Linked DNA regions of Homo sapiens: regions 2, 3 and 4 are each linked to region 1. Evidence: promoter capture Hi-C in 16 types of primary human blood cells and fetal thymus (Javierre and others, 2016). All regions are on one chromosome and are shown on one strand. The core of a region is centred on a gene start or on the middle of the fragment in contact, and the rest is flanking DNA. Distances in the headings are between cores, read along the strand shown.

Evidence for each region. The method cuts DNA at HindIII sites, captures the fragments that hold promoters and counts their contacts. A CHiCAGO score of 5 or more calls a contact.
Region 2: a contact is called between a fragment that was not itself captured here and the fragment with the promoter of LINC03033 in region 1, in 1 of 17 cell types (activated CD4 T cells). The highest score is 8.7, in activated CD4 T cells.
Region 3: a fragment that was not itself captured here is called in contact with the fragment with the promoter of LINC03033 in region 1 in 1 of 17 cell types (activated CD4 T cells); the score reaches 7.4 in activated CD4 T cells.
Region 4: a fragment that was not itself captured here is called in contact with the fragment with the promoter of LINC03033 in region 1 in 17 of 17 cell types (neutrophils, activated CD4 T cells, naive B cells and 14 more); the score reaches 34.5 in neutrophils.

The regions. Positions count from the first base shown.
Region 1 is chr14:61,566,702-61,573,685 of GRCh38, forward strand. LINC03033 (long intergenic non-protein coding RNA 3033) reads left to right here and starts at 3,839. Exons shown (of 3, transcript NR_039985.1): 1 at 3,839-4,059. It overlaps LINC01303 (long intergenic non-protein coding RNA 1303), which reads right to left and starts at 3,952. Exons shown (of 5, transcript NR_110416.1): 1 at 3,785-3,952; 2 at 2,843-2,976. RefSeq lists enhancers at 1,544-2,045, 2,046-2,545 and silencers at 1,887-1,956, 2,037-2,196, 2,937-3,129. The HindIII fragment of the contact is 753 bases long and covers 3,506-4,258 here.
Region 2 is chr14:61,391,286-61,398,269 of GRCh38, forward strand. It overlaps PRKCH (protein kinase C eta), which reads left to right. Exons shown (of 14, transcript NM_006255.5): 2 at 1-3. Among named protein-coding and RNA genes, the nearest start is that of PRKCH-AS1, 72 kb to the left of the region's middle. The HindIII fragment of the contact is 3,111 bases long and covers 2,235-5,345 here.
Region 3 is chr14:61,408,678-61,415,661 of GRCh38, forward strand. All of the region lies in intron 2 of PRKCH (protein kinase C eta), which reads left to right. Among named protein-coding and RNA genes, the nearest start is that of PRKCH-AS1, 89 kb to the left of the region's middle. The HindIII fragment of the contact is 7,709 bases long and covers 1-6,480 here.
Region 4 is chr14:61,697,395-61,704,378 of GRCh38, forward strand. All of the region lies in intron 1 of HIF1A (hypoxia inducible factor 1 subunit alpha), which reads left to right. Among named protein-coding and RNA genes, the nearest start is that of HIF1A-AS1, 5.1 kb to the left of the region's middle. The HindIII fragment of the contact is 693 bases long and covers 1,739-2,431 here.

The sequences.
Region 1 (6,984 bases), core at 2,589-5,088:
ATTTCTCTGTCTTATGGTCAGGAGCCAGACTCTGAGTCTGTTCAACTATGTAGAGGAAAGGTCACTAGAGAAATTCCACTTCAGCATTCCTCTAGGGATCAGAGATTCTGACTGCTCAACAAAATTACCTGGAGGAGAATTTTAATAATATGGCTTCCTGGAACTTACCCTGAAACATTCTGATTCAGTCAGTCTGGGGTGAAGATCAATTGGCTATATTTTTCTAAATCTTTATAGATGATTCTGATGCACTGGCAAGTTTGGACATTGGATAAATTCTAAGCTCTTTGAGATCAGGAAACAGATGAATCTCCCATTCTGTATCCCACAATGACTAACTCAGCACCTGGCACACAGCAACACTTTAGAAATTGTTATTGAGTCAATGAACAAATGGATGGTTGAAAATAGGGTGATGGATTGGGAGTACAGTCAACCTAGCATCTTTTAAAATAATTTTTAAATTGACAAATAATAATTGTACACACTCATGGGGGTACACAGTGATGTTTTGATATGTATTGTGTACAATAAATCAGGGTAATTGGCATATCCATTATCTCAAACATTTATCATTTCTTTGTGTTGGAAAATTCAATATCCTTGTTCTAGCTATTTGAAATTATATATTGTTAACTATAATCATCCCACAGTGGTATAGAACAGTACAGCTTATTCTTCCTATCTAGCTATAATTGTGTTTACTTTAACAAATCTCTCCCTATTCATCCCTCCCAGCCTCCAGTGTCCTCTGTTCTACTGTTTACTTCTATGAGATCAACTGTTTTTTTTAGCTTTCACATAGAAGAACATACAGTGTTTAACTTTGCCTTCCTGGTTATTTCCTTCAACATAATGTCTCTCCATTCTACCCACGTTGCTGCACATGATAAGATTTTAGTCTTTTTTATGGCTGAGTTGTATTCCATCGTTAAATACACACACACACACACACACACACACACACACACACACACCATATTTTCTTTATCCATTCTTTTTTTTTTCTGGACACCTGGTCAACCTAGCATTTTACCTAAAGGCTAGGCAAGGGCCAATGGAGGCAGAAGGCCAAACCAGTCACAGTGGGGCCAGGGATAGGAATAAGGCAGCAGCGTGGGGGTGGAAATAGAAGAAAACTTAGGTAATTTGATCCCCAAGTGGGAGAACATGACCCCTGTCCTTGAAAATGCTGCTACTTTCAGCGGTGCTGCCGCTTGCTGCCCCTGTGCTGGGACTGACAGGCCTTGCGCTCTCCAGTCCCACTAAGAAAGCAAATTGGATTGGTCACTTCCCTGTTTAAACCTTCCAAGGCCCTGCATTGTTCTCAGGATGAAGTCAATTCTCCTTTCTCTGGCTGAGTCCTGGCTCCTCCTCAGCCCATCACTGCTACTTGCCCTCATCTCTCTGTGCCCACCGGCCACCCTGCCTTCCTGCAGATCCTACCGCCTGCGGTGTTCTTTCACCAGCCTGTCCTCTCTGCCTGCAATGCTCATTCCCTGCCCCCATGTTCCCTAGCAAACTCTCCTGCGACCGTTAAATTACAGCCTAAAAACATCCGCTTCTCTTTTCCCCTGGGGGCTGCCAGTTCCCTGGGGTAGAGTTCAGTCTGTTGTGTCCAAAGCCTAGCCAGTAGATGCTCCCATGTTTGTTGAATGAACAGAAGTTGGGACGGGAAACCAACAGACGCTCAGGACTGGGGTTTGTTTTTGTTCCTGTAAAACTGGATTGGTTCTGCAGAGGCACAAACAAGCCCGTTGATTTAGATCTATCGAGGAATTGGGGTAGGGGCAGGGGTGGCAGTTTTGCTAAGAAGAAAAGCAGGTGAAAGTGGGAGATTCCAAAAGAGACCAGAGAGAAGGCAGTGTGTCCTGCCCAATCTGCCGCTAGGGTCAGAGACCAGCTCCCTAGTCACACTCGGCCAAGGCAGGCTGCCGGGCTGACTCCAACTCTAAACAAAGCCAGGCAGCCGCCCAGGTGGGTGAAGGCTGCAGATTGCGCTCAGGCGTGACGCCGGGGTGCAGGTGGGAGCGACGCCCGGGTGCGTGGGTGCAGCGCTCGCCCGCCCGCGGTTAGGCGCACCGCGGGAACCGGTCAGGTGCGCCGTGTGGGGCGGGGCGGAGGCAGGGCGTGCGCCCCCAGGCTGGTGCCTGGGGCAGAGGATTCGCCTGCTTGACGCGCTGATGCCTTGATTTGGTCTGACAAGTGGAGGCTGCTTTGAGAAGCGGCCTGTATTTTTGACATTCAGGAAGCTAGAAATAACCAGCTGGGCTCCTGGCGCTCTGGCCGCAAATGTCTTGCGCTTTCCAGGCAACTGCCAGATTGAAGGGGCTTTTCCCCAATGTAGACCTGTGCTCTGTGTGCTAGGAGGCCGAGGTTCCAGTCCAGGCTCGGCTTCTGACTCCCTACTTTAGGAGGAATCACTGAATTGACTGCAGCTCGGCTTCTGCTCTGTAAAATGGGGCTGTTGCTAGCTGAGCCTCTTCTGCCTCTGGTAGAAAATGATTCCAAGTGGCTGCCCTGTCCACCCTAATCCCATGGCCCGAACTTGATGTCTGCTGCTTCTAGAAGCCTAGTGCTCCAAATATCTGCTCTGGGAGGGACTTGCAGATGATCCTGATTGGAAATGAGGCTGATTAACCTTTTGTGTATCATTGACTCTAGGACAATCTGTTGAAACCTAGGGGCTCTTACCCTAGACAAATTAACACACCAGCCAGATACAGCTTACAAGGGCAGAGAGTTGCTGGTTTGAACCACAGACCCCTGGTTTAACATCTGTAATCTAGTCAACCCCTCCTCTTTCTTGAAGGCTGAACCAAACACGAAGGGTTTTCCCCACCTTCCAATCCTCATACATGCAGACACCCCCTTTTCCTGCTTTCTCCTTCAGTCATCTTCCTCACCATCCCCCATGCTTGGGCACTCTCAGGAGGGAAATTGTCCTATAAATATCTGTAAAAGGCATGGTATGTCCTGTAGCAGAGAAAGCAAAAAATAAAAATATAATTCCTCCACCCCTGGCATGGCACGTGCAGAGCTCTGCCTGATCCTTCTCTCCCACAAGCCTCGGGGGTGGGTAAACAAAAGTGAGAGGTGAAGCTGCTGCAGCGAAGTACCCCTTCAAAATCTTCAGTACCCTTCAGAGCCAGCGCTGTCATCACTATCACATAAACTGTACAACTCCAACGTCAACCAGCAGCCGCCTGGCTGGCAGCAGGAAGAGCCAATGCAATTTTGCACAGTGGCTTGCTTGCCCAAGGTATTGCCTGGCAAATGGGCTTCTTGTGCAATGGGGAACCACAGGGAGGGGCCTCTTAAATGTACCTCAAAGAAACAGCTCTAACAATGGATGATTCAACAGGCTAGTAATTGGCGCTCACTCTTACCACATTGTTTTGATAAAACGACATAGCCCAACTGGGGATATGAAGGCAGTAAGTAGAAAAGCTAACCTCTTGCTACTCAAATTGTGGCTGAGAACCAGCGACATCCCATCACCAGAAGCTTTATAGAAAAGCCAGGCTCTGTCCCAGACCTATTGAAAGGAGATCTGCATTTTAACATGATTGCGAGAGGATCCACATCTTAAAGTTTCAGAGGCCTAATCCAAAGTCTTCTGATAATGATCATTAGAGTCCCAGCCACCCCCGACTTCCCCCTGGGAAAACCACAACAAATAGAACAAATTCCTCCAAGCTCTGCTCATAAGAAGAACCCACAACCCACAGACACCCCCTCACTCAACTAGAGACCTCACCCACCTGTTTGCAGAGTCACCCACCTTGGGCTACTTCTTTTCTACTATTTAATCTTCTGGGAAAACAGAGGTCTTCTATTTGGAGATAAAAATGACAAAGGAGAACCTCCTGAACAGCATCCAGTTTGCTTTTAGCTTTAGCCATCTCTCTGACCTCAGTGCTGCTGGACTCAGTTCCAAGATCTAACTGTCAAATGCTTTAGGGGAAACGGGAAGAGAAGTCCCTGGAGTAACCCATGTGCGCAGCCTGGCACTGTTTTCACTTGCCTTTGGAAATGAAGGTGCAGAAACCATGGGAGGTAAGGAGGGCACAGACTAGTGACTTCCAGTGTGGGACAGAGGGGAAAAGATGGAAGAGAAGTGCAGAAAACCACTCGGGAAAAGACAGGCTGGAGTGATGCCTGCTGAGACAGGGCCCTGATCTCCCAGGACTTCCCTTTCTGCCTGTTCTGTAGAAATGTCTCGGGTTTTGTGGTTTAGGAAAAGAGATGCTTAGCAAGCTTGTAGAAAATGTAATGTGGGCACTTTGTTGCTGTCCTGGCTTTTAAAGGACTCTGAAGCAGATCAGCTTCAAGGTATTGGCTATTCTGTTTGCAGCCTTAGAAAGACATCCTTGATGTTTTATTGTTCTGCCTTTGCTAAGAGCTGGAAACTCTCCCTGGGGAAATGGCTCACCTTGAAAGAGATGCTATCGTAGCTGAAAATGTTTTAGCTTCACTTCCAATCTCTGGTTCCTTGTGGGAAGTAACTGCTGCTGTGGTATATATGCCCTGTGCCTTTTATTTTTACCATCTTTACCTCGGTGGACACAGCTGGTTGAAACTCAGTAAAACTTATGCTTCCATGGAGATTGATTCAGACAACAGGAAAAATAAGTGTAGAAAAAAACTGCACAGTACAAGGGCTAGATTCAGGTTGTAGAACAAAGTGATTATTACTTAGAATCCTGGATTAGCAAGAGAATAAGAAAGATGCTGAGATTACCTAGTGTTATCACCATCCACGTGAAACGTAGAATAAAACTTTTTCCCCACCACATAGATATTGGGCAGTTTATTATAGATGCTACAAAGGGATTTATTATATTTTTCCCAAAATGGTTAATTAGAGGCATCCCAAATTACAACTCCTTTAGCATAACTCCCAGCTCCATGCAGCCTACTTACTAAGGACCCAGCTACTGACAGCTCAGCTCTTTGCCAATCCAACTTTTTTTCCCCATATGCTCAAACTTTTCTTCTCCAAGAAGACTTCCTGAATGATCCCAATTCATAGGGATCTCATCCTTAATGCAGGGGAAATTCACTGTTCTGGAGTAGTCTACCATACCATCACGCTCTTCTTTTTGTGTAATCCTGGATTTCTTCTCCAGTTGTTTTATTCTTGCCTGTCTACACAGATAGATCAGTAGCCTTCAATAGTCTGCATCTCCTGTTATCTTGCAGCCTCCTACTATAAACAGTAGGTGCTTTACTTATGCCAGTTGGGTTGACCTAGACAGTAGTCTCTAAGTAGCAGTCCTTGGCTCATCCTTCTGAAACCAACGAGCTCTTAGGCAGGCTGAGAAAGGGTTAGGACTGTTCACTCTGGGACATCCTTGGCTCTGTATGAGTGTTGTTTTTAAAAGCAGGGATTTTGTCTCCAGTGCATTGAAGAGATAAAACCCCATTGTCAGCATATTTCTTCAGGATCTTTCTGTGTTAGATCTCACTGCCAAGCCAGAGTCCCCACACACAGACTCTCACTTTTCCCCCATCAATAGGCTGAAGTGAGGCAAGTAGTAGAATGTGCTCAAATCATGGCCTATTCTTAATAAAAGAAACAAGGACAGCTTGGGGCTGGCTCGTCTCTTCTCAAATTCTCCTAGTGTTCTGAACCAAATGTATGAAACGAATAGATTTGTTTTATTCGCAGGTATTAATGCTTCTCCGAAAGCAGTTGTTTGGGTGGCTGGAATATCAGTAGTCATTGACCAATAAGGCTTGCAGGTGTGAATCAGAGCAGTATTCTGGACTTCCAGAGTAGAGCTGCCATCTACTACTCTACATCACCTTCATCCTTACAGAATCACTGAGACCATTCATTCATTCACAAGCAGTTGTGTCTGCTACATGCCAGGCACTTGTAGTAGGCATTAGAGATACAATGGCAAGTGAAACAGACACTGCATGTAATCTACTGAGAGAGACTGGGAATTAATTCAATAAGTAAAAGTAAGTATATAATTATCAATTGTGATAAAGGCCCTGAAGCAAAAGAATAGGATGTTCTACAAGAATATTACAAGAGCTTTATCTGATCTAACGTGTATGGGGAGGGGAAGCCTCAGGGAACGCTTCTTAGGGGAAGTGACATTTGAGCTGAGCGTTGAAAGAAGAATAAAAATTAAAAAGTACAGAGGGGGCCAGGTGCAGTGGCTCACACCTGTAATCTTAGCACTTTGGGAGGCCGAGGCAGATGGATCACTTGAGGTCAAGAGTTCGAAACCATCCTGGCCAACATGGTGAAACATCATGTCTACTAAAAATACAGAAAAATTAGCTGGGTGTGGTGGCAGGGTGCCTGTAATCCCAGCTACTTGGGAGGCTGAGGCAGGAGAACTGCTTGAACCCAGGAGGCGGAGGTTTCGGTGAGCCAAGATCGCACCACTGCACTCCAGCCTAGGCGACAGAGTGAGACTCTGTCTCAAAAAAAAAAAAAAAAAAAAGTGAAGAGGGGTTAGAGAGTGCCCAGGATACAAAGAGTTAGTTCATTGGAGGAACTGGAGTAAAGTCCTTGTGGCTGGATTAAAGGGGACGAGGAAAACCAAGATATAAAGAGGTAGGCAGGGGCTGGATCACATGTGCACACAGTTTTGAAGACTTTGGCTTTTATTTTGGAACAGTGGAAGGCTGTTTTAAGCAGAGGATGAGAACATTAAATTTATGTGTCCAGAAGATTGCTCTGATGAGACAAGCGGTGAACAAAAACATCATTACTCAGGTCTCATCCAACTCTTCCATTGTATATTCTAATAAACCACCCAAGTTCTGCTTTCAGAGCTCTGAGCCAAAGTGAGTTATACCTCCCCAGGCCCACTGAAAATCCCAGAGAGCTTACTGAATGGCGTGGGGGCCCTGGTAAAACTCACCGTTCAGGCATTTGAATCTGGGCCACTCTATTACTATCAGCATTTTGCCTCCACTCCCAAGGAAGAAATCCTTAAAATTATAACCTTTGGGTCC
Region 2 (6,984 bases), core at 2,540-5,039, 180 kb before region 1:
AAGGTAAGAATGAGTTTTGGGTAGTTTCCAGAATACATGTAATCTTGGTTTACACTCAGTAGGAATTTCTATCATGGACATTATAAAAAAGAGCATGTTGTAAGAGATGCTTAAAAAATCACTTTCATAAGTTGGGCTGGCTAGTATTTTGTTGCCCAGTGGTCTATTGGTTCAGGTTGCCAAATTAAATATATTTGCTAAATCTGGCAATCTCACGTTTCATTTAACACACTCAATGAGTTTTTGTTTTTAGCCAGTGTCATCGTAGCTGAATGGTTTTTGCGTCTTTTTGGTTCATGACTGTGGAACTCTACGTCTTTGGTTTTGTGCCATCTTTTAGTTTGCCTGTGAATGTCTATGAAAGAAATTTAGGGATCCAGTTATCTTCTTTATAATCTCTATCTCATTTGTGACCTGTAAGGGATTCTGTTCTTCATCTGTGGCTACCGTACTCCCTACTCCCCCATCCAATATTTTTTTTACTTGAGGTAAAATTTATATGGGGGTGAAATGATAGATCAGAAGTGAACAATTTGAATTTTGACAAATGCATACAACTGCATAACCAGCACCCCAATCCAAGATACAGGACATTTCCATTATTGTGAACATTTCCCTGTACCCTTTTTCAATCCCCTGCTCCCAGAGGCAATAAGTAAAGTGCTTTATTTCACCACAGGTTAGTTTTACCTACCCTAGAAGTTCATATACATGGAATTATACAGTATATTCTCTTTTATGTCTGGTTTCTTTCACTCAGCATAGTTTTTAGAAGATTCATATCATTGTGTATATCAGTATTTTTTTCATTTTATTTCTGAGTAGTAGTATCCCATTATATAAATGTAGCATCCATTTGTTTACCCATTCTCCTCTTGGTGGACTTTTGGGGTTTTTCCTATTGTTGTCTATTATGAATAATGCTTTTATTAACCTTCTTACACATAAATTTTTCTGGACATAACACTTTCATTTATCTTGGATAATTATATAGGAGTGGAATTGCTGGGTAATAAAGTAGGTGTGTGTGTAACTTCAGAAGAAACTTCCAGATGGTTTCCAAAGTGGTTTTATTATACTCCCACCAGCAATGCATGAGAGTTCCAATTACTTCATATCCTCATTAACACTTTCTATGGCCATTGCTTTTCATCGTAGACATTCTAGTGGGTATGAAATTATATCCTGTGGGTAAATTTGCATTTCCCTGATGGTGAGTACTTTCTCACATGCTTATTGGTCATTTGTTTGTTTATTTGATAATTTCCAGTTCCAGTCTTTTGTCCTGTTTTCTAAAATTGGATTTGTCTTTCTATTATTGATTTAGAGGAGTTCTTTGTTTTCTGGATATGAGTCCTTTGTGAGAAATAGGTATTGTGATTACTTTTTCCCAGTCTGTGGCTTGCCTTTTCATTTTCTTAATGGTGTCTTTGAGCAAAAGTTTTAAATTTCTATGAAGTTCAATTTGTTAATCTCATCTTTTGTAGTTCATATGTTTTATGTCTTCAGAGATCTCTCTGTCATAGGATCACTAAGATATTCTCCTGTTTCTTTTTTTGTTTTTTTTTTTTAAGAAGCAAATAGTTTTAGGTTTTATGTTTAGGTCTGTATGCCTTCTTAAATTGATATTTGTGTGTGATGTTACAGAGGAGTTGAAACATTTTTTTTCAATACACGAATGCAGTTGTTCTAGCACCATTTATTAAAAGTCTCCCCTGGCCCCTTGAATCACCCTGGAACCTTTGTTGAAAATCAATTGACCATATAATGTGGGTCTGTTTCTGGATTATCTGTTCTGTCCTGTTGATCTGTTTGTCCATCTGATCTCTCTTTCTTTTCTCTACATTATGCCAGTATTACACTGTCTCATTACTGTTGCTTTATAGTGAGTCTTATGGTTACATAGTATGAGCCCTCCAACTCCGTTCTTTTTTGTATGTTTAAGGTTATTTTAGCTATTCTCAGTATTTTGCAATTTGATATCAGTTTTAGAGTCAGCTTATATATTTCCAGACAAAATCCTGCTGTATTTTGAATTGAAATTGTGTTGGATCTATAGATCAGTTTGAGGGGAATTAACATCTTAACAATCTTGAGTATCTTTAAACCCATCTGTAGTCAAATTAGTCAATTCTGTAGTCCGTGGACATGGTCTTTGCTCGTAAGGCATAGCCAGTGTGAGGTTTCAGTAGAAATCCCAAGGTGTTTTAAGCCCATTAATTTTATGTCACTCAAGCTTCTAACTCTTTCTCCTATGGGTGGGAAACAGCTGAAATCTCAGTTCCTATCTTTCAGCATCCTAGCTCTTGCTCCTGTCTGGACCTCTTAGAGTTTCCCTTGCACATGCACAGTTTAGGAAGATGTGAGGGCTTGAAGAGTTTACATATGTGGAGGTTCTTCTTTCTGTGGCCCCATCTTTCCAGGTTTTCTCCCCTCAATATCCAGTCATCTGGTAGGCTTGAATTTTGTCAATTCTGCCTTCAAGCCAATAAAACTGTGGTTCCATATTGAGTTCTATTTACCCAATCCTGCACAACCTGGGGAATAATCTGGAGAAAAGCCCTACAAATGTGGGTCTCACCTAATGCGGTTTCCCTCCTTCACGTGTCAGATTCTCTCTAGTTTGTATGTGTTTTTGGTTGTTCTCTCACATCATCAACTAGTTGTTTAAAATATATTTTCCAGGTATTTTAATCTTTTGGTGGGAGGGTTGGTCCATATCAAGCTACTTCACCATTACTAAAACCTCATGAAGATTTTTAAGCATGTGGCTTAATTGTTTGTATTTTTGGTATTGGCATTTTGCAAAATTGGTTACACTTTCTTTGAGAAATAGTTTTCTCCACTCCTTTCAGCCAACCATTCCCATTCATATGGGTGAATTGTTTTAATGTTAAAGTTTTTCAATATATCGTCTGCATTATTAAATCTTGTCTTTTTGCACAAACCTGGATTTAGCAGAAACCTAGAATACTTGACATAAAAAAAAAAACTGTTCAGGTTACAATTTGGGGGGGTGTTCTGCCTGCTCCAAGGTCTTTTTGCTTTGCTTGGTATCTTTTATGTACAGAGAAAAATGAGTCTGTTCCTAGCCTAGTCAAATAAAATCAATGTAGTATTATGGAACATTGTTGATAAAACATTCTCATCATGCACGTAGAACATGGATCAGCTATGGTAGAAAGAAACACAACAGTGAGAAAGAGGTCAGGAGGAGGAGTGGGTAAGATTCTCTCTCATTCGAGCTGAATCAACTCTCTGCATTAAGTTACAAGGGACTGGCGAAGTAAAGCAATGCATGTTAGACCAGGTCTGATTGTGCCATAATCATTACATGACTTTTTTAGAGCCATGCCAACTCTCTAGGACTAAATGCTCACCAAATACATCTGATTGTTCTCATTGTATTTATTTCTTAGTTTCAGTGATAATAAGAATGAAATGGTAAGTCATACTAGAGGTGAGTTCTTACTAGGTCATTGCAGTTGTGTCTTTCAGAGCTGACCCTGGGTAAAATTGTGAGATGAGTTGAGTTTATCTTTGGTAATTCCATCTTTGCTTTAAGCTAGTCCTTTGTCTCTGCCTACAGTTGTCCCTTACTGCAGCAAGAAGCCCAGTGGTCCCTGTCCAGAAAGAGTTGCTGATAAGGAAAACAGTTAATTCATAGGCTAATTCACACTACAGTGATAGAGATTGATGTCATAGTACTCTATTCCTCTTAGGTGTGTTTGCATATTTTAAAAGATGCTGGAAGAGCTGCTTTATCCATGAGAAATAGACTTTTAATGCTAAAATTTTAATATTGAAATCTACGGGTGGGGTATATTTTAGGAACCCCATATCTGTTCTCTGTGTCTCTGTGCGTGCATTGCTTTTTCATTTTGGCTCCTAGACTGGGGCTCAGCTTGAGCTTGCACGTTGCTGCTGCCTTTAAAACACCGCTCCCTTGTCACATGCAGAGGACGTGATGGCTGCCTGTCTGTGTTAAGTAAGAAGGAAATGGAGCCCCCCCCCGCATTTGCCTGCCACAGCTGTGGCAGCAACCTGGACCTGGCACTGAGAGCATGTCCCTAGCTTGACCTCGCTCCTGGAAGCCACCTTAGATTATGTCCAGCCATAATATGACAGGTTGGCTGGTGCAACATTTGGAGCTCTAGTTCCCATCTTGGATACTGAAAGCCTTCATGGAAAAGCAGTGTAAGGTCAGGCCTGCCCAGTGTGTTTTGGACTGTGAAAAGGGCATTGTCCTAGGATCCTGGAGGCACTGTCAAAGCTCAGGAAATGTTGGCTGATCCTCAGTCTGTCTCACATGGTTGTCTTGAAGGTCAGATGATATAATATATGGGGAAGTGCTTTGCAAACTATAAAGTACTATATGAAGGTATGTTAGTGGGATTTTCATTTCCATGTTCCTATTGTCACAGCAAGGAGATCCCAGTCATTTCCCCTACCCCTGCCCTGGGACCATCTTGTATACTCAGCAGGTTCGTTTTATCTTAACATTGACTTTATGGCCAGGCGTGGTGTCTCACACCTGTAATCCCAGCACTTTGGGAGGCTGAGGCAGGCAGATTGCTTGAGCTCAGGAGTTTGAGACCGGCCTGGGCAACATGGTGAAACACCATCTCTACAAAAAATACAAAAATTAACCAGGTGTGGTGGTGCACACTTGTAGTCTCAGCTACTTGGGAGGCTGAGGTGGGAGGATTGCCTGAGCCTGGGAAGTGGAGGTTGCAGTGAGCTGAGATAGTGCCACTGCACTCCAGCTTGGGTGACAGAGTGAAACCTTGTTTCAGAAAAAAAAAAAAAAAAAGAAAAGAAAAGACTTTATTTTATACAAGAAGCCTCAAGAATTTCATGGACAGTGGCTAGCATAATGTTGGCTTATCTCCATGCCTGTTTTCATGATCTCCTATGCGGGTTCTGCCATAAGCTCAGATTCTATAATCTCAAAGCACTCCTTTAAAAAAAATTACTTAAATTGGACGGTGGTCTGTGATATACAAGGCTGGTATTGGGGCTACTGACTGCTACTTACCTCATTTTTTAATTTTTCATTAATTATACTGAATTAGCTCAGGCAAAACTATTTTGTTAAATGTAAGACATGATTGAGAAGTGACATAAGAAAAACCTGCTGGGTGCAGACCTGTAATCACATCATAGATGCTGGAGAGATAAAGATGAACGAGACATAGACACTCTCACAGGAGCTCATAGGAGGGAAGGCAGATACATATTATGTATGCAATGCAGGGAGCCAGGTCCCATGGCAGGAATAAGCCCAGTGCATAGTGTTGGCACATGGGACTACATAATCAATTTGGCCAGGAGGGTTTAGAGAAAGCTTTTCTGGGGAGGTGATGTTTAAAACAAGTCTGAATGATAAATAGGACTGTGCCTAGAAGGGAACAGAGTTCAAGAGAGGGAGACAGTTTGTACAAGAAACGAAAAGGAGTGTGGAGGTGCTAAAGGTAGGGGGTGTGGAGGTGCTGAAGATTGGGGAGTGGGATGGGGGGATGTGGCCAGAGATTTCGGAGGGCTTATGTGTGGGCTTGCCCAGGACAGGCTCAGTTTGTTGGTTACACCAGAATAATTATACAACAGCGCCACTGTTCACTTTCAAAAGGGTGCCAGGTCAGACAATAAATTGCATGTTCACACCACTTGTAGGCTAATAGAAATGATAAGATACCAGTGAAGGGTTTTAAGCAGAGATCTGATTTGGTGGCAGTAAGTTCAAGGGTGGGGAAGGGGTGTTAGTTGATAAGACTAGATCTAAGGTGTGGAGAACCATTATAGAGACTTGGAAGGTTGTCTCAGGGCAAGATTATTAGGGCCTGAATTAGGTTGGAATATGTAGGGGTGGAGAGGAGGGGGACAGCTTTGAGAGATGTCTGTGTAGTAAAATCAGTAGGAATTAGCAATCCACTGGATGTGGAGGATGAAGAAAGAGGAGTCTCAGATGATGCTCAGATGGTGCCTCAGAGTCATTTACCAGGGTAGAAACTGGGAGAAGATGATGAATCCAGCTTTGGACAAGTGGAGTTTGAGGTGCTTGTGGGAAATCTAAGTTGCAATGTCTGGGAGAAATTGGAAATAAGATTCCGGAGTTTGGCAAGATGCCTGGGCCTGAGATGTAGCTCCAGGTGCCAGGTGGAAGACAGGCACATGGATAAAGAGGCCCATTGAGAAGATTTAGCAAGAAAACCAGCAAGGCTGACCAGCAGCAGAACTCTGTGGAGCATCAACATTTAAGTACTTTGGCTCATGAATTATAGTTTATCAAACCAACCAAACTATGCTGAAGGTTTACTTAATGAACACCCATTTTGCTAAGATATTACTTGTGAAATAGTATCTGAGTGCTTGCTGTATGCCAGGGACTGTTTCACCAGATTGTTTACCGTCTTCCAAATTGGCACCAAAATGTTTGATAATGAAGTTAGAAGAAAGAACAGAACACAAAAGGCTTTGAAAAGTAATGTTTGCATTGGTGGTAACAGTGGTTTCTTCAAAGTTTGATGATACAATGTGCTGTGTGAAGGTTTATGCCTAATGCGGGGGTAAAAAGAACAGATGAACCTACTCAAAACCTGCAGTGAGGGGTCTTCACTGAACTTAGATAGAGCAAGAAAAACTCTTTTACATTCATTGCTTTGTGGAAGTCTCTCACAGAGCTCAAGGCGTATAAAATTATCAACTGGATCAGAAACCCCTCACCACTGTTCATCTTGTTAAAGGTGTCACTCTGCATCTGTGCAGAATTCCCCTAGGCACTGAGGCAGAAGTAGAAGTGATTTATTATTTTGAAAAAGCTGCCTAATGTCAATCTTTATTCTAACTAAGCCTTCCTGAAGCTAAGAACTGGATCTGAAGTCTGATCAAATTGAAATTTATTATAGTGATGAAACAGCCCTGGATTTTTAATGCAGCCTTCAGATTCCATCATTGTTGCCATGTGTGTGATTGTCACTATGTTGG
Region 3 (6,984 bases), core at 1,376-3,875, 160 kb before region 1:
TGATGCAGACTATGTTCCCACCCACTTGGGAAGGAAATCCGTGCCCCATTTACTTCCATGTACTTGGTGGTGAATCATCTAAAAGATACTGGAAAAATGTGATTACAGATGCCCCCTTTCTCGGCCATTGCTTCAAATCCTAGACAGCTATTGAACGTCACCGGATAGACGTCATATTCTAGGAGGGTGTCAAGTACATACAGGTCTGTGTTTCTATGTGCTTTTTGTAGGAGCTATCAACTATAAAGCTGTGGGTATGAGAATTTCAGGGCAAGGTCGGGAAGGTGTAGGAGGGATTCACTAACTCTGGGGAAAGTGTGTGCTGCTTTGTCAGTTTCCTGTTCGCTAGGCCACAGGGAATATGTTGGCTCTTTCTGAATCTGCCCACCAGAGCCAATGTCATACCTTTTCCCAAGCCACTGCTTGAGGGTCCAGCTAATTGATGCCACCGCATTGCCTCTCCTGGTGAGGACCGACTGTGCCATGGGGGTGGTGGCTGTGGGCGTAGACAGCCCTGTTCATGGGCATGCACACTGCCATGGGTGCTCCATGGGAATGCTGGTAGATAGCAGAACATGGATCAGGAGTTCTACTCTCCAGGATAGCATGACCCAGCCATGGGCTCAAGGAATTGCTCTTTGGGATATGTTTGAAACTCATCCCCTACTCTGGCCGATTCTTTCAGTACAGATACAGAAATGCAATGAGAACCTTCTCCCTGTAGTTCTGTTAAGATAAATGAGTGGTAGTGGCTCATACCTGTAATCCTAATACTCTGGGAGGCTGAAGCAGGAGGATTGCTTGAGCCCAGGAGTTCAAGACCAGCTGGGCAACATAGTGAGATGCCAGGCATCTCCACCAAAAAAAGAAAAAAAAATCCAGGCATGGTGGTGTGCACCTGTATTCCCAGTTACTTGGGAGGCAAGAAGATTGCCTGAACCCAGAGGTTTGAGGCTGCAGTGAGCCATGATTGTGCCACTGTGCTCCAACCTGAGTAACATGAGTGACACAGTGAGACCCTGTCTCAAAAAAAAAAAAAAAAAAAAAAAAAGAGTTAATGTTTATAAGGTGTTTCTAGGTCCCAGGAAAAAGAAATGTTTTAAAAGTAGATTGTATATGCTACTTGTTATTAATTTCTTATCTCTAGAGATTGAATGGTAAGAGCCAGGGCCAGCATTGTACATTGTCAGGCAGCATTGCCCCTGTCGTCTGCCTTTTCCTCCTGTTACTAGGAGCTTGTTAGGTTTGGTCACCAGCCTGATGACCTGATCAAATGTTGCCTGTCAACTTGGAGTGACTGTGGTTGTTTATTTTGTTATTTATTCACCAATAAATTGAGTTGGTTCACTCTGTGTATTTTTACAGCATTTGGCCTTTTCCCAAATATTTGCCTTAGTTTATTAAATTAGCTTCTCAGTTATAAGTTAAAGTGTGTGTTGACTTTTATGATTTTAATTTTACAGGCTTGGTTGGCTTTGAATGACCAGATGGCATCTCTTGAGTCTGTGAGCAGGTTTTGTTTCACTTAGGACTTCACCCCCACCCCGTTCTTAAAAATGGTGATATGTTAAATCCACTTTAAATCTAGTATTTGATTATTAATTAAAATATCTCTTATGCATTTTGAAGGTAAAATTACAATTTTGTTCCATGTGAAATGGGAGCATGTGTTGACAAACCGTTGATTAACTTGAGTGGATTTGGGTTAATCTTTTTACTCTGCTCCATGCTGCCTGCCTGTAGGGTAATATAAATCCGTTGGGCTGTTGCTAGGCTCAGCTGCTTCTGAGTAGTTTGACAGGTTTCATCCTGTTAAAGGCTCTTTTTCTCTAGGCCCTAGATTCTAGGGGTATTGGGGTGATGCTGGTGAATGGAGTCTAACTGCGTATTTGCTTCTTGCTTCCAGCACCAATTGTGGCCAATGGAGTGAGGCAAAGAGCACTGGTGTGGCTAAATTACTCCTTCTGCAGTCCCCAGCATATTATTGGATGCTCTTTTTCCCTCTCCCAGAGCTTTCCTTATCTTCTAATTTCAAAGATAAGCGTTACCTGTAGGCAACGCACCCGACCTCTATCCCTGTTGTGGTAGCTACACATAAACATAGCCATCATGGCCAGGTCCCTTGGGTGGTCACATTTCCTACTGTTCTGATCACCTTCCACTATCAACACTGACCAGTGTGCCTGGCTAATTCCAAACCGTGCGAATGGCTGTGTTGCCTGGGCTCATGAAGCCTGTCAGGAAGAGCTGTGGACAGATGATTTTTGAAAATGAGGGTGATTGCAAAGGGACAGAAAGTATGAGACATCGTGGATGCTGTCTTTTCCTTAGGCCTTCAGTCATTTGAAGTCAGGACTTCCAAGCCTGGATATCCAGTGGGCTTCTGGGGAAAGTGGATCAGAGCTCAGCAAGGATTGAGCCCCAGCGACTTCCAACAAACCATCCCATCCAACAGAGGCTGTCTTCACTATGCAGACCTTTGAGCCACCTCAGAAGACACCAGCCTTCATGCTCATCCTTTACACGTCTCTTTGGTTCATGTACCAGTCCCTTGTCCTCCTCGGTGACCAAGATAGGAATGGTGTCAACGGATGATTATGGCATGACATAGAGTAACTCTTTGCATAAAAGAGTGGACAGGGCAGGCACTTAACACTTGAGGACCCCTGTTCCAGTCAGCCACAGATGTATTTATTAGGCCTTAAACTGATGGGATGGTTCTTGGATTTTTCAGTTTAAAACCTATAGGGGGACTTTACTTTTGGCCAAATGCTGAAACAAGTATTGGATTTATCTTCCCATGTGAAAAACAAAATATGGACAAAATAAATGAAACAATGATTTGTAAGACACTGGATACATCAGACAACAAAGGCCAATGATTCCTGAGAGATAGGAAACAAATGAGGTGAGACCTCTGAGTTTTTTCAAACTGCCTTAAAAGAGTTTCCAAGCTATAGCACAGGAAAAGGGAACCATGTGGAGCCCAGCAGACTCCCTGAGTTGAGGATTGGATCTGAGAGTCCAGAGAGACTAAGGCCACTAGAGATCATGGGATACAGTACTAGAGAAGAGACAGCTGCACCAAGACATAACTCTGGAGGTGTACAAAGTTCTGAGAACTGATCAGTGTAAAGAAGCTGCCTGAGTCTGGGGAAAGCACCATTCAAAAGGAGCAAAGATAACTGTTTCTGGTGCTCACACGGGGCCAGAAATAGTGCTTCTGCCACCAACCAGACTGGAAAACTTCAAGAGTCATGGAGCATTGGGTAGAGTAGAGTACATAGAAGGGCCTTGCTTGCTTAGTGGGGAATAACTAACCCAACTGAGCATGGCTTTAAATCTAAAAAGCAAGATCTGATAGGGCCGAACTATTTCTGAGTAACTTAGCTGTGTCCCAGATCAAAGCTGATTTTATAGAAATACAAAACTATCACTCAATAGGCAAAAACCAGTGTCTGGCATCCAACCAAAAATTACCAGATGTACAAAGAAGCAAGAAAGTACAACCCATAATGGGAGCAAATCAACCAATCAAAACTGACCCAGAATTAACGCAGATGTTACAATTAGCAGATAAGGACATTAAAATGGTTATTATAACTATATTCCATATGTTAAGCAGAAACATACTTGTCTTTAAAAAGACAAGTAGAAAAGTGAAAATGGAGAAAATAAACAAAAAGACCCCAATTGGATTTGAAACATGGGTTGCTTTTCTATGACTCCATCCTTATGTTACTTCAACCGAACCCATATGACCTGAACCTGGCCCCTGCTAATTTATCTGAACCATAAGCTCCTACTTATCTTCTCAGTGCTCTCTCTAGCCAGGACTGTGGGGTCATCCCTGCAGTGCTAACTCAGTGATGCCCAGGGGTCACTTGACCCTTTAATCTTCCTTCATGCCTGCTGTGCCAATGCCTGACCTGAGCAATCATCTCACAGATGATTGGATGTTGCTGGCTGGACCCATGGCATATAAATTTTTGGCATTAAGCAGATACTTAGCAAAAACGGAAGCATTCTTCTTGTGTTGGTTTCTCAGCAATTCTAAAACTTTTACACCTGAAAGCCCCTTCCCACTTTTTTTCCCACTCATATTCTCTTTCTCTTACTCTGCTGAAAAAATCCTGCAAGATCTGCCATCTTTATGTGCCTGCTGTCCCTCAGTGTGGCCATCTCTTTTCTTCCTTTCTGCTGGCTGCCAGGGAACCTCTCTTCCTACAGAAGCTACACCTTTTCCTGGGTGGATCCATCCTCTCTGGCCTCTTAACACATTCTCACATGTTCATTTACCTGGACTGACCACACTTTGTTTAGTCCCTTGCTCTCCTTTGGCTGCTTCTCCTGTGGTGATTTAAACAGAAAAAAAAAATTCTTCACCTGATCATAGTATCCTCAGCTACCATCCTATTTCTTTCCCCCCTTTGCAGCCAACTATCTTGACAAACGTTTTGTATCTGCGTCTCACCACCAACTTTCTACTCAGCTCCTGCTTCGCTCTTGCCCAGACACTTTCTAATTACAAAGTGTACCTCTCCTTTCTCTGCAATCTTTCGTGTGACCGTGATGCTGCATTTGGTTCTGTTTCATGTTCTCCCTTTGGGCACCTCAAACGACTGCAAACCCTTGGCCTCTATTCTGAGTGGTGGTCCCCAGCACCCCAGCTCCTTTTCTCCCATTCCCTTCAGTGATGACAACCTTCATCATTTCTTTTTAAGCGCCCCCCCCCCGCCCCGCCCATGTACCCTGTGCCTATATTCTAAGCAAGTGGCTTAGATCCTACTTAATCTGGAAAATTGCATCAGGTGTGAGTGACTTCCCTCAACTACACTGACTTTATCTGCATTCCCACCCATCCTGAGTCCTTAGCCTCTGTTCCAGAGGATAGTTGTCATTGCTTTTGCTAAAGACCTGTGCTTCCTCACGAACTTTGCTTCCCTTTCTTTAACTTCTCCATTTCCTTCTCTCATTTTCTTTCTCTGATCTGTAAACATGGCCAGGCCTCCTCCTCCTAAAAATCTCCTTGGGTACTTTCTAATTTGTCTCCTTTTTTTCATCCGGATATGTTGAGAGTACAGCCTACATACTAATTCTTCACTTCATTGCCTTCTATTTTCTCTTCCAGCCGCTACTTAAGCTCTCTGGCTTCCCTCACCACTATTCTGCTCAAGTAGCGCTTGATAAGGTCACTGAGGGCATCTATATTGCCAAATCCAGTAAGCAGTTTCCAGGCCCCATCTTATTGGACATCTCTGTTGTGTTTGGCAGTGCTCATCACTCTTCCACCTCAGAGCCCACACTTTTTGACTTCTGCAACTCTGAAGTCTGGATCATCCCATTCTTCCCTTCTCTTCCTTTCTCGTATCTTTGGGCTTCTCTACCACCCTCTGCAGTTTGTATCCTTGGGGGATCCATCTTCAGCCCGCCGCTGTCCCCATTCACATCTCTGGTCATCTGTTTCAGTCTGGGATTTCACTCTGCCTGTTGCTCTCCACTCCTCCGTCTATATCTGCAGCCCAGGTCTCTCCCCTGAGTTCCAGCTTCCTGTGTCCAGTCGTGTGCTGGGCACTCTCAATGGGCTTCATTTAATCTTTTTTTTTTTTTTTTGAAATGGAGTCTCACTCTGTCACCCAGGCTGGAGTGTAGTGGTGTGACCTTGGCTCACTACATCCTCCGCCTCCCAGGTTCAAGCTACTCTTCTGTCTCAGCCTCCCTGGTAGCTGGGATTACAGGTGCCCACCCTCATGCCCAGCTAATTTTTGTATTTTTGATAGAGTCGAGGTTTCACCAGATTGGTCAGGCTGGTCTTAAACTCCTGACCCCAAGTGATCTGCCTGCCTCAGTCTCCCAAAGTGCTAGGATTACAGGCATGAGCCACTGTGCCCGGCATGGGCTTCATTTATTCTTTTTTTTTTTTTTTTGAGATGGAGTCTCACTCTGTTGCCCAGGCTGCACTGGCTAAGTTTTTTGTATATTTAGTAGAGACGGGGTTTCATCATGCTGGCTGGGCTGGTCTTGAACTCCTAACCTCGTGATCCGCCTGCCTCAGCCTCCCAAAGTGCTGGGATTACAGGCATGAGCCACTGTGCCTGGCCCATTTAATCTTTCAGTTAGCAAACATGCATCTTCTGTCCCCACACTCTTGAATATGAAATGTTGAATATAATGAATAAAAGCATTCCCCCTCTGCCAAGCACCATACTATCCTGATTCTGTTTCTATCCCTTTGTCCTTCCTCTGTTTCCTTCCTGGGCTCTTGTGTTCTTCACTATCTTAGAAGTGGGCGCCCATTCTCATAGGGCCTTTCATCTGCAGGGACACTCTCAGTGGTTACCTTCAGGCCCCATTTTTCCTGTGAGCCCTGGTTCTGTGCTGTCTTTCAAACTCCTCTGGCTCAGACCCCAGTTGTCATTTTCCTCCCATATCAGCACTGTCTTCACTCCATTTCTGTCATTGCCTTCTTCTGAACACTGAAGCTTGAACACACACATTTTCCCCACCTACACATTTTGTCTTTCCTACTAACTTAAAAGCAATTTGAAGTGTGTGTTCTATTGTGTACCTGTGCACCTCTCCCTCCCCAACATGGTGATATGTGAGGGTATAAAGTGAGGCAAAGAAAAGGCAAAAAGATGAAGTTCCTGTCATTTCCCATTTTAACAAGAGTTGCAGAGGGTCCCCCTACCCCCCATCTCCCACAGCAACTTTGACATTAAGTGATCACTTCAGGGGTGGTATTTGTGGAAGAGGTTTCACCCACACTTCCATTTCCTTAGGAGAGCTGAGGAAGGGGGTTAGCCATTGAAGGATGAAGATATGTAATCAATTTAATGAGGACTGTCATTTGGGGATTTTACAGGAATTTTTGACAGCATTTACTTTAGGCTACACTATGTGGAATCTTCCTTTCCCTTTGGGTAGTGGATCCCTTAATGCCATATTTGTCTGGTTCCATATCTTTCCTGTCACCTTCAGTTT
Region 4 (6,984 bases), core at 835-3,334, 130 kb after region 1:
CAGTTTTCTATCCTTATTATATATTGAATCATACTTAATACAATGCATTAAATTATGTACCACTTTTTTTATATACAGTATCGAACTCATTGTTTTGCCATTCATCCGTTCAGAATATCAGAAGCAGTTTTGAAACGAATTAATAAATTAGCTACTGTTCATCAGCCCCAATTCTAAATAAGCTCTTAGATTTTCCTCAGCCCATCTGTTACTTTCAAAATTTTCTCATTTGAAAACTTGGCAACCTTGGATTGGATGGATTCATATTTCTTAGTATAGAAGTTCTTGATATAACTGAAAAATTAAGTTAAACACTTAATAAGTGGTGGTTACTCAGCACTTTTAGATGCTGTTTATAATAGATGACCTTTTCTAACTAATTTACAGTTTTTTGAAAGATAACTGAGAGGTTGAGGGACGGAGATTTTCTTCAAGCAATTTTTTTTTTCATTTTAAATGAGCTCCCAATGTCGGAGTTTGGAAAACAAATTTGTCTTTTTAAAAGAAGGTCTAGGAAACTCAAAACCTGAAGAATTGGAAGAAATCAGAATAGAAAATGGGTATGGTTATGATACTGTAGATTTAACGCAGGACATTTCATGTTGTTCCTAGTTATAGGGGCTGAACTTATTTAATAGCACGTGCATTTTGATTTTTAGATTTTTAAGGGAATGTCAAGAGAGTAATGATTCTGTTTCAGGCTTCAGGCCAGACTCCTTCAGAGTTTTCCAAAACAAATAATTACTGAATCATTAAAGTAAAATTTCTGAGAATAGATATTCCTTAATTTCCTTCATTAACTTTGGCCATTAAAAGTCAAGAAGCTCTCTCATTTATTAGCAAACTTTTCTCCTTATGATTCTATTTTGATTGTCCTTTTGTTTGAGGAAGCAGCATATGGTGGTTAAGAGCATAGGATCTAGAGGCAGATACCTCTGAGTTAAGGGTCCCAGCCCTTCACTTGTGAGCTTGAGCAAGTTACTGAATGCCTCTGAGCCTCTTTCCTCCTTTTGAAATGATGATAAGAATAGCAGCCATCTGAGCAGTTATTGTAAAGGTTAAATGAGATAATGCTTGTGAAGCACTTAGCCCATTGCAGGAGTCTTGATGACACTGTGTACTTGAAAATAGATGTTACCTGTTAAAATTCTTGTTTAAACTTCCACAACTCTTAAAACTCTTTTTTGCTAGTCCTTCCAGCTGTTTCCTTTAGTTTCTTTTCTGTGTCTTCATGCATCTTTTCTATCTCCTGAAAGTGAAAAGACTAACATTGGATCCAGAGCTTGAAAAGCGTTTTTTTCCTGTTACAATGGGCAAAAGAGTACATCCTTGGGTTATATTGGCACCTAGTATCAGTTATTTTTCTTGAGCATCTGATCTGCTCTCTACTCTAGTGGAGGCCTCCTGCTTCACAATTGCTCACCCCTGTGTTTTCTCCCCAAATAGAATACTGAGTTTACTCTGGACTCTAGAGTCAAACATACACAGTATTCTAGTCTTACTGTTCATTTAAGCAAGATATGTGCAAGACACTGCATTCTTAGTACTGGCAGTAAGTTAAAACATTTTTCGTCTTGATGCCAAAGTTTAGACAATTTTATAAAAATTAACCTTTGTAAAAGATAATGAGTTGATAAAATATTCTCAGTAAAGCAGCTACGTGGTAGAAAAACTGTCCTTTGCTTATGAGTTTCTCCAGAGTTAAGACCATTGGGTTCCATCTGAAGGCAAGACTTCAAGCTTGTCTTACTGGTCTGTTTTGTGGCTCAATTTGTATGAAGTCTATGCACTCTTCCACACGTGTGTATTTACTGAACTATCGAGTTATTTTAGACTGAGAAAGTATTGGAGTTCATTCCTACGGTCCACTGCAGAGCACCTTGTGCAGTTTGGAGAATGTCAACTTTTCTACCTGTTAACTTCCATTGTCTTTACTTTTAACGCCATTGTCTGTGACTCTAATGGTGTCACGGCTCAGGGTTTAGATTTTGTGGTTACATTCTATTCTTGTATGTCAAGAGTGGTGTATAGAAAGCTGAGGGGGATTATTTAGTCTCTTGACTGATTTTTTTTTTTTTTCTGAAGAACTCAGTTTATTATGTTTGGTGGTGAAATAAAAATTGATGTGCATGGATGTTAAAGATTTGGGTTAAATTGTGTGTTCATAGATGCCTTCTCTTAGTATATAATTTTTTAAATTTAGATACTTAAAATACTGTATCCCTTTATCTAAGATTAACATAAGTCTGTTTCTTAACCAGGATAAAAAAATCTAAATTTAAATGTGATGTTGGATGAGTTTCCAATCAAGAAATTGATTTTTTAAACTTTGTGACTAGTTATCCAGTGGGTGGATTTTACCCAGTGTGTGTATGTGTTTTCTGCTTAACTCTGGAAGGTTAGAAAGAGAATTTGAAACTAAGACAAGCCAAGCTTCTTGTTGCTCAGTATTTTTGGTAAAAATATGGTCAGATTGTTTAAATTAACTATAGGCTTTGGAATTTTAAAAATAATTATATCTCTTGGTCTCTTGACACATCAAGAATTAACTGTTTTGTATATGCGTTGAGTATTAATGTTCATGTTTTCTGCAGTAGAAATTTATAAACCCTTATTTATTTGCCAGACATGATCCCTTTAGAGAAATCTAGTATCTAAAACCTGAATTTTTAAAACAAAATTTAAAATTTTTGTTTCATAAAAACAAAAATGTGATTACCTCATGGCTTTTTTCTTATAGCTTTTGATTGTTTTTTAAAATCGTAGTTCAAAAACATTAACCTAAAATTTACCATCTTAACCATTTCTAAGTACTGTTCAGTAGTGTTAAGTATATTCACATTGTGCCACTAACTTCCAGAACTTTTTCATCTTGCAAAGCTGAAATCTTACCCATTAAACAACTCCCAATTTCCCCCTCTCCTCAGCCTCTGGCAACCACCATTTTACTTTCTGTTTCTGCAAATTTAACTACTCTAGATGCCTCATATAAATAGAATTATAGGGTTTTAATATTTTTGTGATGGGCTTATTTCACTTTGTGTAATGTCCTCAAGGTTCATCCATGTTGTAGCATGTGTCAGAATTTCCTTCCTTTTTGAGTCTGAGCAATATTCCATTATATGTTCCATATTTTGTTTCTCCATTCATCCAGCAACGGACACTTGGGTTGCTTCCACATCTTGGTTATTGTGCTGCTCTGAACATGAGTCTGCAAATCTCTCTTTGAAGCTTTCACTTTTTTTGGATACATATCCAGAAGAGGGATGCTGGATCATATGGTAACCCTTTTTAATTTTCAAGGAACCACCATATTGTTTTCTATAGCAGTTGCACCAGTTTACATTCCCACCAACAGTGCACAAGGGTTCCTATTTCTCCACATCCTTCTAAACACTTGTTTTCTTTCTTTCCTTCCTTCTCTTCTCTTTCTTTCTTAGCCATCTAATGTGGCAAAGTGGTAGCCATCTAATATGTTGAAGTGATTGTTTTTAAGGGCTTGTTTGTGGATAATTAACCAGCTGAAAGCTAACTACAGTTTGCCAGTGGAAGCTTTAACTGAAAGGAGAGTAAGTACCTCTAAAAGGAGAATTCAATTTTTCTAGTGACTTAGATTTGTTATGCCAGTACTTTTTCACAGAAACACTTTTTGGGTAAAATAGTGTACACCTGTTCTATTGTTGATAAAGCCCAATTTAATTAGGAAATTTGTTCTCTAAGATTTAAAACAATAATTGAAATAATGTATTTTTATTAAAAACTGTTCCCAAGATGTTAGCTTTTAGCTGTTCTGGTGATCTCAACTGTTATTTATGAGTGTTTCTTTATTTTAAAATTTCACCTTAACCGGTTACAGTTTTAACCATAAAGATTATTTCAACATATGATTTTGAAAATTTATTATCTTGTAAATGGGAAAATGTAGTGATGGAACATAGTTTACTGTATGTAGTTCTTCACTTGTTTGAAAAGTCACAATATATTTAGGCAAATTAATTTAAAAGTGTCTAGTATTTAATATTGCAATTTTCACTCATTAAGGACAGGTCCCCCGTGTTTCCCCCTTTTTTTTTTCCAAGTAGTTTGGGAGGATTTGTTTTTCCAGCTGAAAAATACTATGGTTAAAAATAAGGTTTAAAGGCGAAAGTTGAAGTCTTTGAGGGTTGGGATACGTTTCTGTTCTTAAGAGTCTTGTAAATTCAGATGCTAAGCAAATTTCTTTAAAATGATTTCTACCCTCCCCCTTTCCATTATAAAACTGGATATGTTTCAGTGGACCAAATCCCAAGTAGGCTGAATTTGAAATTTGTGGGCTGGGCGCGGTGGCTCATGCTTGTAATCCCAGTACTTTGGGATGCCGAGGTGGGTGGATCACCTGAGGTCAGGAGTTCGAGACCAGCCTGGCCAACATGGTGAAACCCCATCTCTACTAAAAATACCAAAATTAGCCAGGCGTGGTGGCGGGTGCCTGTAATCCCAGCTACTTAGGAGGCTGAGGCAGGAGAATTGCTTGAACCTGGGAGGCGGAGGTTGCGGTGAGCCAAGATCGCCCCATTGCACTCCAGCCTGGGTGACAGAGCAAGACTGTGTTTCAAAAAAATTAAAAAAGAAATCTGTGGTGTGAATACTGGTACGTGGTGTACACAGTGAGCTCTTAATAAGTATTTGAATTAACAAATGAGACAATGATTGAATAATTGGATGAACAAAGAGAATGCAGGTTTTTAAAAGGTTTCTTTAGAAATATTGTCGGCCCGGCACGGTGGCTCCTGCCTGTAATCCCACCATTTTGGGAGGCCGGGGCAGGTGAATCACCTGAGGTCAGGAGTTCAAGACAAGCCTGACCAACTTGGAGAAACCCCGTCTCTACTAAAAATACAAAAAAAAAAAAAAAAAAATAGCAGGATGTGGTGGCACATGCCTGTAATCCCAGCTACTCGGAGGCTGAGGCAGGAGAATCGCTTGAACCTGGGAAGCAGAGGTTGCAGTGAGCCAAGATCGCGCCACTGCACTCCAGCCTGATGACAGTGTGAGATGCTGTCTCCAAAAAAAAAAAAAAAAAATTAAAAAGAATGTTTTAATTCTTTAGTTCCCTGTCTGAGATTCACTGATTGGTAAGAAGAAAGTTAAAGAATCTCCTTTGACTTTTTTTGATATAGATATTTAAATTCTATTACTTTATAGTAAGGTTGGGGTTTATTTTCTTTGCTTTATAATAGAAGAGCATTGATTATTCTCTTTGCTTTATAATAGAATACCATTTAAATAGGAGTTCCCTGAGTGTGTTTACAATCATTTGATCTGGCTAAACTATTTTAATGTTAATGAAATTTTAAAATTTTGGAGGAAAAAATTTAAAAACTACACAGGTGCACAAAGAAATAAAAATCACCTGCTTTTTCACTATGTAGAGACCATTGTCTACTATTTCTCAATTCTGTGTTACATCTGTATGTTAATAACTGTAGGATTAGGGACTGAGTACTGTTTTTAACCTGCTTTTAAAAAATTTACATCTACATTTTTTCCCATCTAAATAGTGAGGAAGAGTATCAGAATTTTGTAGGCTTGTGGTGATGGTTAAATTAGATAATATTAATGTTGGGTACTTAACATAATATATGGCTCTTAATACTCTCCAGATTTCAGATATAGTCTGTTTTACCATTACTGCCTTTTTATCAAACCTATTCTCAAAAAAGTGAGAAAAGTGCTGAGATTACAGGCGTGAGCCACCATGCCCGGCCTCATGGTTCTTTCTTAATAATAAATTAGAAGAAGTAGAATTACAGGGTCAAAAAGTATCCATTTTAAAGCTTTCAATGTAATTGCCTGTTTATCTTCTAGAAAGTTTGACCTAGTTGTATTTTAGAGTGTCATTTTCTTGAACTTTATCATCATTAAAGTTTTAAATTTGGAACACTGGCAATTTGATAAGTATATTAGGATTCTTCTTATTGCAAGTAGCAAAATACAACTCAATCTAGTTTAAGAGGGGAAAATGTAGTCATTGGCTAACACAATCTAATTTTGGTTTAAGAGACAAATCTAGAGTCTCAAATGATCTCAGAGTGTAATAATCCCTGACTTTTGTCTTGATATTACTTGGCTTGTATACCTTTGCTCTATTTGCATGCTGGCCTTACTCTGCCACTGACAGGCTGTCTGTATGGTGTGGAAGAGGACGGCTAGCATCCCCATACCTGCATCCATACAGTTTGTAATATAAAAAAAAAAAAAGTAAAAAAAACTCCCTCTCTCTTCTAGTGTCTATATATCAGTTTCCTAGAAGAAAACGTTTTGCCCTACTTGGCCATGTGAATGGAGTTCCCTGATTACATGAGTCAAATATGTCTTATTGTAGCATATTTGATGGTCTTCTTGTAGAATATTATCTTACTATACACAGAACTCTTGACCAGTAATTAATGGGCCATGAGTTTTTGTTGCAAGTCATTTGAATTCATATTCTATAGTTTTCTACCAAGTGTAGTCATTCTGCAAGCTGTTCTTGTCATGACTTTTGGGAAGTTGAGTATTTCTTCTATGGGTTAGGGTTTTCATCTCAAGAAAAAGATGATCCTTTTCTCTACTAAATATGTGTTAAGATCACACATTTTTCTAGATCGTTTAGCTCTACTGTGTGATCTTACACAAATTGCTTTATTGGGATGATAAGAATAATTGCCTTATAGGATTGTTATGAGAATGAAATGATACATCAACTCATATGAAACACTCAGAACAGCTCTTGGCACAAAGTAAGGGCTTAATTAAGTAGAAACTATCCATATATTCATAATATTATAGTATTGGTTAAGTTGTTTTCAACATTGTTTAGAATCGCTCAAGCCTTCTTTGTGATAATCTGACGAAGGCTATTCACCACCAGTGAGTAAATAATAGTGGCAGAATAGTTACTGATGCTTTTCCTTTACTTGGTTTTTTTTCCATAAACATCTGGCCTTTGCAGACTAAATACTG